Linked DNA regions of Homo sapiens: region 1 is linked to region 2. Evidence: promoter capture Hi-C in human tissues and cell types (Jung and others, 2019). All regions are on one chromosome and are shown on one strand. The core of a region is centred on a gene start or on the middle of the fragment in contact, and the rest is flanking DNA. Distances in the headings are between cores, read along the strand shown. Region 1 has its middle 38 kb from the start of LINC00670. Region 2 holds the start of MYOCD (myocardin).

Region 1 (4,059 bases), core at 1,410-3,909, 150 kb after region 2:
AGGCATGAGCCACTGTGCCCAGCCCAATTAATGCTATGTTCACACTTCTATCCTCTTGTCAAGTTGTTTTTCAATGTTTTTCTGAATTATTATCTTTATTTGCGTATTCACAGGAGGCTGCAAGCCTTCTACAACTTTCTATTCATGATGCAACTTCGTAAACATTTGAATTGGACAAGAGCACAAAGAAAGATTTTTGAGGACTGATACCTAACTTCTAATTCTTTATATTGTTAAAAGGAAAAAAGAAAAAAGAAACCTTTACAGTGTGAGGGGTAAACAAAGATTCAGTCAAGGCAATTTGGATCGATAACACCTCCTCATGGTTGCCCGGCCAAAGGTAACAGCTCCACAATATTCTGTCAACCCTAAATTTGTCAATGGGTTTAGAAACTATACAAATATAATTTCTTGATTTTTGCAAATGTGACTTATTCCTTCATTCTTTATTGGTGCCTTTCAGACTCACAAAAATTTGAAGTGACACATCTCAACTGTTTCCTTCCAGCCAGTGATGATGTCTCATGATTGATCGGTATTATTGCATCTTTTATATGTAACATTTTTCTGATATCTGCAGTTTTCTGCCTTATGTTTCCTTTTTCACCCACCCCATTCTTCCTCCCTGGTTTTAGTGGCTCTTCTGATTCCAAGCGTCCATTTTGCAACTCTTGACTTCATCCAAGTCTCCTCAGTTGAAATCTGAAGAGATTATTTTGCAAGTGAGTCAGAAATCACTTCTTGTCAAACATGGTGCCAGAAAATGAGCAGTATCGTGCTCAGTGGGAAAGTATTTACTCTTTCTTTGCTCCTTGCAACTTGAAAGTAAATGCTTCTCTTTCCCTTCTTGGAATTTAATTTCCCAATCTCTATTCCAAAATCGACAAAGACCAGGAAGAGCATACAAGCGCTGGCTCCTCAGTCCCAGTAACATATCATATTTGTCACCTTTAATGTCCCTTAATGTCTTTGTGTCTTGTCTTTCTAATTTAGCTATGACTCCACTAGTAAAAATCATATGACTCATGTCCAAGTCCACATTTAGCAAAATTTCTAAAGCTTTGTTAGTGTGCAAGGCAATGAATATGAAATGAGGTCTGCATTCTTTATTTGGATTAAGTTTAAAGCTTTTCAAAGAACACCATCTGAAAATGTCACAGCATGACAAAGCAGCCATCCCTATAGGAGTCTACCCACAGAGTGCAGGACTCCAGGATAAAATACATTCTTTACCTTGCTGTCTTGTAACCACTCATTGCCACTTGCACGCTGGCCCCAGCAATTTTATACATGAATGAAATAAGGTAAAAATTAACAAGCAAATTCACAACAAGATTAATTTCAGATGGAAAATAATCTAGAGGAGAAAGCTAAAATGTGCTGATTAATATAGGATAGAATGAATCAAGGGTCAATAACTTTTGGCCTGGGAGCCACGTTTGACCTATTTTTGTAAATAAAGTTTTATTGGAACATAACCATGCACATTCATTTACGTATTGTCTATACAACTGCTTTCCCATTACAAAGACAGAGTGGAGTAGTTGCAACAGCCTAAAATGTTTACTATCTGTCCCTTTACAGAAAAAGTTTGCCCATCCCTGGGGTAAGCGATTGTTGGTTTCTACCCAGAATCCATTCCTCGCTTTCTCTTTCCTAACAAGATCCTGATTTATCTATGTTCGATCTCTCCCCCATACATCTCAGGTGTTTCAAGAGGTGATCACTGTCCCCCATCGGTGGGGGTGAGCCTGACCTGTCCAATGGGGGTCCCGTCAAGCTCCCCACATTAACTGGAACAGGAGCTTGGGTCTCAGCCGCTCAGCACAAGGAAACCCTCCCAATCACAGAGATTCTTTCAAAAATGGTTATGGGACCCAATTTGAATCATATGAGGAAAAGATTGCTCAAGGTTTCTGGGAAATAAGCTTCTCTGCTTTTAATAGAGGCCCACTGGAAGAAGCACTCTCTCGTCTCCTGGGTGGTGTGTGTGGTACCCTAGCCATGTTGCCACCAGGAGAAAACGTAGCCATCACAGAGAAGGGTACAGCTAAGAGAAATGCAGAGAAATAGATCTGGAATCCAGCTTTAGCTCACCTTGGAAGCTGCCTTATTTCTGGATTTCCAATTATTTGAGACAATTAATTTAATTACTCAAGCTAGTGTGAGTATTGGGTTTTCTGTTATTTGCAACATAATAATTTTTAACCAATAGACATATTTTCACTCCATTTACCTAGTGTCATAGGATGTTGTGTTAATCTTATTTATTTGTAGGCCTAAAAATGTCTTTATGTCTGGACAGAATTACCTTCCATTTCTTTCTACCAATATCTCTTGGTAGCTGCCTCTTAGAGTTACTGCTCGGCATTTTCTTAAAGAAGGAGACAGAATCCCTCAAAATTCGTGGTGGTCACTATTCTTTGTGATGCCTTTTGGTATCCTTTACTCTGTCATAGTTCTTGCTACTACTATTTCTTGATTAGAGGGTAGAAAATCTCTGTGTGATATTTCATTGCAATTCTTCATTAGCTTTCTATTTTTTGTCCTCACAACTATCCAACAATCTTAATAAGGTTTATAAGACCCTCCACGCTCTGTCCTCTGTCTGGTGCCCTGGCCTCATCCTGGACCATTGTGTCCTGCTCACTCTACTCTTGAATGCACCACTTTTTCTATTAGTTTCTCTAAGGAGCCATATTCTTTTGTGTCTCCAAACTGTTCTCTGCCTGATATGCTTCTTTCCCCATTTTCACCTATATCATTCTTGTTCATCCTTCAAATCTCAACCCAATGGTTGTTTCCTCAAAGATGGCTTGACTGATCGCCAAGACTGGTTTAGCTCCCCCTGTTACCTGCTCCCATCCACCACAGACTTCCCATTTCACAGCCCTCTAACTTACAGCCACTTATTCAAAATCTATATTCATAGTAGACGGCGAGCTCCAGGGAGGCTGAGACCAGGACATTTTTTTTTTTGGCTCACCGCTAGGTCCCAAGTCCTCAGCATTGTACCTGGCACAGAGCTGGTCCTCAATGCATAGAACTCCTGACTACATACATAGTTTTGACCATTTTTAAAGTTACAGAAAACACCAATGTTTAAATGCAGAGTACACTTCTGGTGACTCATGTCTACTGACTTGAAGAGAATGTTGGATAAACACTAATAAATTCTTATTCTCTGACTCTGTTTTCTAGAAAACATGCAGAACATCAGCTTTAAAATCTGACAACCATTTCTGTCTTAAAATATAGCAGGATCTCAGACAGGCCCTCAGAATGTACTATCTCGAACTTCTGAGCTTCTACAGAGTACATTTTAATAATTTCAGTCTTCTGATGGGAAAACCGAGATTGAAGAGGATAAGTAATTTAACTTGCTAATGACGTGTAAATCTTAAGCTGCAGACATCACCATCACAGATCACCCAGGTTGATTTTGAAACCTAGAGAGTAACTTCTCCCCAAGTAGACATGGGTGAAGATTTTGTGGCCACTTAGGTCACCGTGATTCCAGGTGTACATTCTGTCTGTCTCTGTGTTTGTGTGTGTGTTTGTGTGTGTGTACACATGCTGCTATGGCCAAAACTGTGTCCCCCAAAATTCATATGTTGAGGCTCTAATTCCCAATGTTATAGTATTTAGAGAGGGGGCCTTTGAGAAGTAATTAGGTACAGATGAGTTCCTCAGGATGGGTTCTAATAATGGAGTCAGTGCCCTTACAAGAAGAGATATTAGACAGCTCTCCTTCTTTCTCTGAAATGTGAAGGCAAAGTAAGCAGGCTGCTATCTGCAAGCCAGGAAGAGAGCCCTCACCAGAACCTAACCCTGCTGGCACCCTGATCGCAAACTTACAGCCTCCAGAATGGTGAGACAATAAATTTCTGTTGCTTATGCCATCCAGTCTACAGTATTTTGTTATGGCAACCCAAGCTTACAAAGACACCTAAAGTGAATGAAGTCTGTGTCTCATCTCCAAAATATCTCTTAAATTTCTTAGATCCTTTATCCACTTTCATTGTTTCCACTGGAATCCAATCTTCCATCATCTCTCCT
Region 2 (4,121 bases), core at 786-3,285:
ATATCATGTTTTCCCGAAGCTACCTTTCCTTATGACACAAAAGCCTGCACAACTTTAAAAAAAGTGAGGCTGGAATTCTCTGAAGCTCCAGGATCAGGGTCTTCAGGGTCTACTTAGGAGACACCAGGACTCCACAAATCCACTGAGATGGAAGTTGGGAGTGTGGCAAAAACTGACTTCCCTCTCCACTGCACTTTAGCTGAAGGAGGGATTGATAAGCGTTTTGCAAGTCTACTATCAAGTACATCACCAGATCCTTTTAGAGACAAACCAGCACCCCCAGACCCTCCACATTTAAACTGGCAAGGAAGCATTTGAAATGAATGCAGCCTCATAGAAAACAAATCTACATCCTCTCTTCTTCAGAAAGGTGGCAGTGTTGCCTTACAGTTTTGACCGAATACAACGCAGTGGTGAGGTCTCTAGCTGGTTAACAGATCAACCGCCTCACCTCACCATGGAAAGGAAAGGAAGGACTTAATCCACTGCCGACCCCAGTGGCTGGCGGACTCATCCCAGAGCTTCAGGGGCAGTGAGACTTGTGACCGCCTAAGCTCTTGAGTTTTCAACTTGCATCAACAATGAAGATCCTAAGAAAATCTCCAGTTGACTCCACAGGCATCTAAAAACCAAGGGCATCTAAGAAAGTCACAGATGAACCTTACCTCCCAGCATCTACATTTTTCCTTTTTGAACCATCCATCCCAAGTGAAACAACTGAGTTGGCCCCATGTAGAAGGGCTAAGGAAACTTTAGCTTAGCAACCTATGCCAGCATCTTTCTGACACCTGTTATGTCTAATGTTCACATCAGAGTTCTCCTAAAAGTCATCAATCTAAGTAGAAGTCCTACATTGTTGAGTGTGTTGTTAACCAGTTTTCTAAAACCAACATTATACACAGAGCTACTGAAAAATAACTTCAGAAGTCAAGTGTTGCTTTGTCTAAACGTGGAGACCCACACAGACACCTTCCATGGGCGCGTGTACAAGCCCTTCTGGAGAAGCGGTTAGAGCTCCCGTCTCTCCCTTCCACTCACCTCCACTCAGCGTCCTTTGAGAAGTTTCTCCATGTGCCACTAACACAGAAATTTTGGGGGAAATTCTCTATTTATAAATATCAGATGGTTTGGGAAAAAATATTTGTGGCACTGGGCTTTCTTTTTTTTTCTACAGTGATGTCATTTTAAATACTTGGTGTGCTCCAAATTTGCTATTTTTACTTCCCCCAAGTGACTTTTTTTGGGAAATACATTTGTTTGGATTAGCTACATTTTAAGTGACCCCTGTACCTAACACACAACATCAGGTTCATCTTCTCAGCGATTATAACCGATACTACGCAGCTTCCAAACTTGAAATCCCTTATTTGTTCATTTCCAAAGTTGCTCCCTCTGAATGTACCCCTCCAAAATTTCTATTCATAGATGCAGAGAAAATAAAATAAAAGGATTGGCCTTTTCACAGATGAACAACCACACTCGACCACCCAAAGCACTTACAACGGAAGACACGAAAGGCCCCCAAAGTCAAACAAAACTCTTCGCTTCCACAATGTGCTTTTGGGGAACAAAGTTGAGGTAGACCTGGCAGGCTTTGAAACATTTATTGGAAAGCAGTTCTAGAGTTGAGAATTGCAGAAGAGGAAAGTTTAAGAAGGAATGCTAAATGCCTTAGCCCTACCTGATCTGAACTTGCTCCTAATCAGCAAGGAATGCTCAGACCCCAGGAGTGTCATGTTGAGTCTCAGCAAGCCGCTGGTCCCTTGGCCAGGCGCCCCCTGTTCTCCACCAGCAACAGGCTCCCGGGAGCCCAGCTGACCGCAGCTAACAACCCAGAATTCATCCAACTCTCCGTGAGCTCCCCTGGGTAGGAGTACAGTGGCAGCCAGTGTCCCCAGAAAACTGGCGCCTCCCCCCTCGCCGTGCGGGGCTAATTAACTCTTAGCCGGCGGGACCCTCCTCCTCCTCGGAGGTTGGCCAGGAGCAGCGCGGCATCCCAGGCGTTCCTGTCTGATGTCATAGGCTGCCGGCGATTGCGGAGAATCGCCACCACGCCTTTATGAAGGTCCCAACTTTGCCATCTGATACCCTTTACTACTGACAGGCGCTCAGCCAATCAGGAGCGGCGAGCGGGGTCTGGGGACCCGGAGCCGCCGAAGCCGTCTCGGGAACCGGCTCTTAACTCTTTGCGGCGGGCCCCGCAGCCGCCGAGGCACAGAGGGCGGGAGCAGGGCCAGGGGTCGGGAATCTGGGAGAGGGGCGCGAGCTAAAGAGCGGATGCCCGGAGGAAAGAAGGAAGGGCTGCGACGCCGCGGGGCTTGCAGGTGGTTCGCGGGGCTGCGGCAGCCGCTGGGAGCTCCGAGGTCCTGGGGATGGGCGTGCGCAGCCGGGGCTTCCCCGGCCGGGCTTCTGCCGGCGAAAGGGAAGCGGCCGGGATCTCCCGCCAGCCGGCTGCAAAGGCTGCGCGAAAGGGCGTGCGCGCCCGCGGGACAGTTCACGCGGGGCAATTTGGAAATAAGCTGGACCCCTGAGAAGAAAAGCTTCCGACGGACCGAAGCCCACGCATTCCCCTCGGTTTGAGGGGCTCAGGGCACTGGCAGAGACGATTCTGTATCTCGCAGCTCCAATACTGGACTTAGATGCATTTCCACGGGGAAATGGAAAGGCTTTCATTTTCTAGGATATGCTTTTTGGGGGGACAAATGTGACACGGCGCATCTGGAGATCCAGCTGCGACACAACGCTCCCACCTCACAACCCCGAGGGAATGGGAAAAGATACCTGAGTTGGAGTGAAAAACCTACTGGGCTCTAAATAGGGAGGGGCTCTGGAGCAGGGGGCAAGTCAGAGCTCGGGCTGGGCTTAGCTTGGGAAGGCTCAAAAACTTTGCCTGCGAATGAGTCTCTCCTTAGGGGAAAATCCATTCCGTAACCGACCCAGAGTTATTTGTGCATCTGGCCGAGGTGTTATAGGCACATGGATCAATGAAATAAAACAAAGACCCATCTCTCAAGAAGCCCGTTAAATAGTTGGTGGCTCAGAACATAAAAACCACTCTGTATACGTATATAATTAGGGCTTATTTGCAACTTCATATGCACGTGGACCCCGGGTGTCGTCTATTACACACAAGCCTGCCTGCATACTACGAGTCCTTAAAAGATCAGTCGGTGACAGATGGAGACCCGAGGTGACAATAGCTCATGGGGACAACCTCTAATGTCCTGGTCCCGGCCTCTGCCCCATCCCCTGTTGCTGAAAACACATTAGAGGGGTTAGCCCTAGAGCTTACTCTCTGGATCTGAGCGGGGCGATTTTGTAAATAAGGTCTTCAGGGATAGACACCTTCTTGCTGATGTGTCAGAGACGAGGAAGAACAATCCATCCATGTTCCCTTTGGGGATCTAGTCCTGGCCTGGGCGCCTGTCTATAGGCTGATTTCGTGTGCAGGAGCATCTCAGCGATTACGTAACATCATTTTCCCATTCCTGCTATAACAAATTACCACGAATGTAGTGGCTTAAAACAGCACACATTAATTATCTTGCTGTTATGGAGGGCAGAAGTCCAAAGTGGGTCTCAGGGGGTCAAAATCAAGGTGTCAGCGGGGCTGCGTTAGTTTCTGGAGGCTCTAGGGGAAAATCGATTTCCTCACCTTTTCCAGCTTCTAGAGGCCGCCCGAGTACTTGGCTCATGGCCGCTTCCTCCATTTTTGAAGCCAGCAATCGTGGGTCAAGTTCCTATTGCATCTTACCGCTTTAATGCTCCCTTCCCCACCTTCTGCTTCCCTCTTCTACATTAACCTTACGGCAAAAATAAACTCTATCATAAAGTCAGTTTATTATCCTCCCTAATCTCATCCACTGCCTGGATTCCCTTTGCTGTATAATGTAACCTATTCACAGATTCCTGGGATTAGGACATGAACATGGGAGGAGAGGGCATGATTCCGCCTGAGATCTTTCTTTCTCTTCTACCTCTCCTGGTCTTCAGTCAACCCCCAGCCCCCTGGTCTTCAATGAGAAGAAGGAAAGTGGAGGGAGGTTTGGGAACGGGTGCACACAGGAGTCTGGAAGGGCTCTGACCGGCTTTGAGATGTGTGTGGCAGGGAGGTACTCTAC

What was found. Contacts are between HindIII fragments. The study calls those that stand out against the background at their distance.
Region 1: a fragment that was not itself captured here is called in contact with the fragment with the promoter of MYOCD in region 2 in 1 of the 25 tissues and cell types used here (aorta).

Annotation. Positions count from the first base shown.
Region 1 is chr17:12,509,892-12,513,950 of GRCh38, reverse strand. No RefSeq gene overlaps it. Among named protein-coding and RNA genes, the nearest start is that of LINC00670, 38 kb to the left of the region's middle. The HindIII fragment of the contact is 3,132 bases long and covers 1,094-4,059 here.
Region 2 is chr17:12,663,804-12,667,924 of GRCh38, reverse strand. MYOCD (myocardin) reads right to left here and starts at 2,035. Exons shown (of 14, transcript NM_001146312.3): 1 at 1,682-2,035. The coding sequence starts at 1,736. The HindIII fragment of the contact is 11,548 bases long and covers 1-4,121 here.